Linked DNA regions of Homo sapiens: region 2 is linked to region 1. Evidence: promoter capture Hi-C in human tissues and cell types (Jung and others, 2019). All regions are on one chromosome and are shown on one strand. Each heading gives the region's core, a stretch centred on a gene start or on the middle of the fragment in contact. The rest is flanking DNA. Distances are from core to core; before and after follow the strand shown.

Region 1 (2,700 bases), core at 198-2,697:
GGATGGGGGGATCCTCTGAGCCCAAGAAGAGTGAGAGGGTGACATCAGAAGCAGGCGTGTGCTAGCTCATGCGTGAATGTCTAGGGGCTCCTGGGGGCTGGCTGTCATGGAATCCTGCATTCCCAAGCCAACCAGCTTCAAGCTGACTCCAGCTACACTTGTGCTTGGAGCATCAGAAAAGACAGGAGCATTCCAACCTGCTGAGAACTTTCCAAGACATGTAGCTGCCAATCACATCACCTAGGATGATCTGTCAGACACCCTCAACTTACTGAAATACTGAAGAAAAAACATCGTCAAACTGTCCATTAATGAACCTCCTTCCACTATAAAAACCCGGGTGCTTTGTCTCTGGGATGACAAAGCACTTGGGGTTACACAGCCTGTGTGGCTCTTCCCTGTTCCACTCCCCAACAAACTGCTTGAATGTTGGCTGGATGAAGCGTCTCCAGTGGGTGCAAAGCCCTGCTTCCCTGACAGTAGTGGGTCAAAGTGCTTTGTATGTGGAAACCGTAAGAGCGATATAAGTGTTTTTGGGTTTCATTGTCATAATAACCATTATTATTATTGCTATTTTTGTGAGAGTAATAGGTTCACGCATCAACTCTCCCAGATAATGCTTGAAAACAGAGGATGGGGCACTGCCCTCCACAGCATCCGAGGCCCCTTCTGGTAATGACAGCACTGCTATATTCCTGGTGGGGAGGGGGGGGGCCACAGCCATCTCAGTCCTTGTAGTTCAGGTGGGCCAAACTCACCACTGCCCAGCCTGGAAAGCTGGGAAAAAAAAGAATCTCCTTTTTGTTGAGGTTGATAATCTGATAACATGTAAACCTCAGGAGGTCCTGGTGATCATCTTGCCTCCACAAGGGAAGCCAGCAAAAAGGAAGGAAGCTGAGAGATGGAGAGAAACCTTCCAGGACCATGGTCAATGTGTACCTGGATACATCCATGCCTGAAGGCCTACTTCTGACATTTTCAGTTATGTGGAACCATCAGTTGCGTTTTTGTTAAGCCAATGTAAGTGAGGTTCCTGTGGGTGGCGGTCAAGAGTTCTGCCTGTGCATAGGTCATGGAGCAATGCCGGGCCGGGAACTCACAGGCGAGGTGTCGGGTAGCCGCGGGCAGGATTCAGGACTCACTTGCCTGCCATCCTGCGCGCTGGGTGTGAGTGCCAACCTGCAGAGCCCGACGCACCCCGCGCCCGGCCCCCCGGCAGCAGCGCCTGAGGCTGCTCCAGTGGCCTCATGATGATGGTGACAACGCCGCGGGGACGGTGGGGACCGGCTCGCACGCATATGGCTTCTTATGGCTGACGCGCCCTTTCACACACACATCGTCCGCAGGCCCTGACGCCCTGGCTCCCGCCTTTCCCTCCTGCCCCAGGAGGAACCCAACCCGAGCTCAACCCCAGCCCCAACCTCAACCGCTCAGAGGAGCCCAACAACGCCCGCGCGCCCGCCCGTCCCGCTGACTAGCCCGCGCCCAGCCAATCAAAATTGGCCTTCTAGGTATGTGACCTTAGCTGGCAGCTGATTGGTCCCTCACGAGAGACGCGGGGTCAGCGGCTCAGAGCGCGGCTGTGTGGGGCTGCGGGGCTCCCGCCATGCCCGCTGGGGTAGGTCCTGCGGACCCCGGCCACTGGAGCCACTCATCATTTCCGACGGATGGGCCGGAGGGGCCGCCGGCCGCCCCAGCCAGGGTCTCGGTAGCCTGCAAGGAGAGAAAGAGGTGGGAGCAGCCCGCGCGGGGCCCTGCGTCTTGCATAGGCGCTTCTGGTAAAATCACTCCTTTATCTCAGATAATGAGTTGGCGCTGGATCGCTGCGTCCTCAGGTGGGGCTCGAATCGTGACTTTTAGAGAAATAGGTTTTCTTTCTTTTTTTTTTTTTTTAACAACATGGGGTTTAAAGGGCGCGGAATTGGAAGCAGTCGTCACCCGGAGGCCTGGGCGTGCAAGCACCGAAGCTCTGGCTGGCCCTGAGCCTCCCCACCCCACCCGCTCTTTTCGCTGGAACGCGTGTACTTTGGGCAGTTGCTGACGTGGAGACAGGACGTATGTCTTCATATTTTAGTAAAACCCAATGCCCTCTGCCTCTCTGATTATGTTCTTTAAGTTATCGCCAGTTCCAATTTGTATTTCTTGGAAACGGTTGGGTCTTCCCTCACTTTTCAGTATTTTCATGTAGACTCAAATACTCTGGATTAATATTTGTATTTGCCCAAACCATCACGAGCACCTCTTACCCTGATGGGCAATACTTCAGTGTGCTGCGTTCTGGCCACAGAGCAAACAGGGTGCTCCCAGGCACTGCCCTCTCGGATTTCTTGCCTTGTTATTTAATCATTAAGATCGTGACCTATGAGCAGGACTGTTTCCAGCCAGCACATACACATGTCCTCTCCTGGCCAGCATCCATGCTGATTAGACGGTGCCCCTGCCATACTAGCTGCCTAATATTTCAGATACCCCACCCCGTGTGTGTGTGTAAATCATGTCACTGCCCTCTTTGTAGCTAATGACAAAATTCCAAGAGTCACCATTAGCCTAGCACATTATGCCTGTCTCATTTCTGCCCACTTTGGAGCACTCGGCTTCTCTGCTGTTTTCCTCCAGAGCACACTGAAACACTGCCATAGCACAGCAGGGCATAGAAGACAGGCTCATGCTCCCCTGGACGCTCAGGCCTTCACCTCGGGC
Region 2 (2,700 bases), core at 89-2,588, 230 kb before region 1:
TATCCAGATAATCATGACTAGACTGTTTCCCAGGGCTACTATGCTGCTAGAGTGAGGAAGCATACAACTCCCTAAATGTGAAATTCAATTGGCTACAGTAAAAGTCAATCACAAGGTATGCAATACCCACAGACCCCAGGCAACCCTGTTCCTAATCCTGCAGTCACTGAGGCCATGATTTACTGGGTTAATTTTGGGCTCCTGAATAGAGCGCTGCCAATTCATAGGAGGCACCCATCAGGGTGTTTACTTGGGAAAAAGAAAGAATTAATCAGTTGATGACAGGAGCAAAGAAGGAAAAGTTAAAAGACAGACATTCAGGAGTCATGCCTAACTGAGGTTAGGAGAAACAGAAACTCTGAGTGGGTAGAATCCAGGAGCTAAGAGGAGGTAGATGTGCACCTTCGCATCAACAGAAACCAGGAGATGAAAACAGCGTAATCTCTGTACCTTCTGCTCAATGTTGCCGTAAACCTAAAACAACCCTAAAACATTAAGTCTATTTAAAAACAAACAGGGAAGGCAGAGTGGACAAAATAGAAGGGGTTGACCTTCCCAGTCACTGAGGAAATGGTGGGATTAGAGCCCTCAGGAGGCAGAGTGGAGTTCTGAGACCCAAACCCAAGAGACTGAGCTCAATCACCATGGAGTGGAGATCTCAAGCCAGCTGAAGGGTGCAAGGAGATGTTGTCCCTCAGGCGCCCAAGGGTGCTCTCACCTTCTTCATTGGGTGTTCTCACCTGCTTCGTTGGGCCACATAAACCCCAAATGAAACCCTAAGTCCCAAACCAACTGAAAGGACACCCCCTCTTGGCCAAGAGGACCCCATAGCAACCTGAAAAACTAAATTCCAGGCCAGGCACAGTGGCTCACATCTGTAATCCTAGCACTTTGGGAGGCCAAGGAGGGCAGATTGCTACAGGAAAGGGGTCCCGATCCAGACCTCAGGAGAGGGTTCTTGGATCTCACTCAGTTCTTGGATTCAGGGCTTGTCCATCGAGTAAAGTGAAAGCAAGTTCATCAGGAAAGTAAAGGAATAAAAGAATGGCTACTCCATAGACAGAGCAGCCCCAAGGGTGGCTGGTTGCCTATTTTTATGGTTATCTCTTGATGATATACTCCACAATAGGTGGATTATTCCTGCCTCCCCTTTTTAGACCATGTATGGTAACCATCTGACATTACCACGGCATCTGTAAACTGTCATGACACTGGTGGGATGTAGCAGTGAGAATGATCAGAGTTCCATCCTTGGTCACACCATCTTGGTTTTGGTGGGTTTTAGCCAGCTCCTTTACTGCAACCTGTTTTTATCAGCAAGGTCTTTATGACCTGTATTTTGTGCTGATCTCCTATCTCACCTTGTGACTTGGAATGCCTTAACTGTTTGGGAATGCAGCCCAGTAGGTCTCAGCCTCATTTTAGCTAGCTTCTATTCAAGATGGAGTTGCTCTGGTTAACATGCTTCTGACAGGATCACTTGAGGTCAGGAGTTCAAGACCAGCCTGGCCAACATGGTGAAGCCCTGTCTCTACAAAAAATACAAAAATTAGCTGGCAGTGGTGCTGCACACCTGTCATCCCAGCTGCTCAGGGGGGCTGACGCGGGAGAACTGCTTGAACCTGCCAGCTGGAGGGTGCAGTGAGCTGAGATCGCACCACTGCACTCTAGCCTGGGGGACAGAATAAAACTCTGTCTCAAAAAAAAAAAAAGAAAAAAAAAAAAAACTGGAATCCAGGCCCTAACAGGAAGGGAGGTTGGATACACTTTGTTACACACCTCCCTTTTGGAGTTTAGGCACAACTGACCAGCATTAACATTAAAATAGAGATCGTGAGACAGACAAAACATATTCTTTGCGGCAATAACATATCAAATCCCAACATGATTCTAGTATAGCATCACATAACAGCAGAGCCTGAAGGAAATCAAAATATTTTGCCCCAAAATATATTTCCTTGACATATTTTATAATGGTCCTGCAACACAGTTATTTGTAGGGAAATTTTTGCATCTGTAGAGAATCTTCATTAATGCAGCCAGATCTTTATTGGATTTAAGAGAGATTAAGTAAAAGTCTAACACCTTTAGCACCTATTCTCTCTGAAGACTGCTACCCAGGAGGCATCAACTACATAACAAGAACCTTGGTCTCCACAACACCCCTTATCTGAACTTTCTACTGACTTTAAGTCTTTAGACAAAGCTTAACTCTTTCAACCAATTGCTAATCAGAAAATCTTTGAATCTACCTATGACCTGTAAGCCTCCCTGCTTTGCGATGTTCTACCTTTCTGGGCCAAACCAATATACACATTACACATACTGACTTATGTCTTTGCCTGTAACTTCTGTCTCCCTAAAATGTATAAAATTAAGCTGTAACCTGACCGCTTTGGGTACACTTTCTCAGGACCTACTGAGACCATCCTTCAGGCCATCGCCACTCATATTGGCTCAAAATAAACCCCTTTTCGTATTTTACAAAGTTGGCTTAAAAAAAAAAATTGAGACAGGGTCTTACTCCCATTGCCCAGGCTGAAGTGCAGTGGCATAATCTCAGCATACTATGGCCTCAACCTCTCGGGCTCAAGCAATCCTCCTCCCTCAACCAGTCTCCTGAGTAGCTAGGACTTCAGGCGTGCACCACCACACCCAGCTTTTGTTTGTTTTTTTTTTTTTTTTTTTTTTTTTTTTGTA

Evidence for each region. The method cuts DNA at HindIII sites, captures the fragments that hold promoters and counts their contacts. A contact is called where the count stands out against the background at its distance.
Region 2: a contact is called between a fragment that was not itself captured here and the fragment with the promoter of C16orf95 in region 1, in 3 of the 25 tissues and cell types used here (IMR-90 fibroblasts, aorta and mesenchymal stem cells).

Annotation. Positions count from the first base shown.
Region 1 is chr16:87,315,945-87,318,644 of GRCh38, forward strand. It overlaps C16orf95 (chromosome 16 open reading frame 95), which reads right to left and starts at 1,448. Exons shown (of 7, transcript NM_001195124.3): 1 at 1,147-1,448. The coding sequence starts at 1,298. It overlaps C16orf95-DT (C16orf95 divergent transcript), which reads left to right and starts at 1,565. Exons shown (of 2, transcript NR_135180.1): 1 at 1,565-1,778; 2 at 1,913-2,099. RefSeq lists an enhancer at 1,026-1,475. The HindIII fragment of the contact is 14,678 bases long and covers 1-2,700 here.
Region 2 is chr16:87,086,771-87,089,470 of GRCh38, forward strand. No RefSeq gene overlaps it. Among named protein-coding and RNA genes, the nearest start is that of LINC02181, 30 kb to the left of the region's middle. RefSeq lists an enhancer at 1,750-2,399. The HindIII fragment of the contact is 5,730 bases long and covers 1-2,700 here.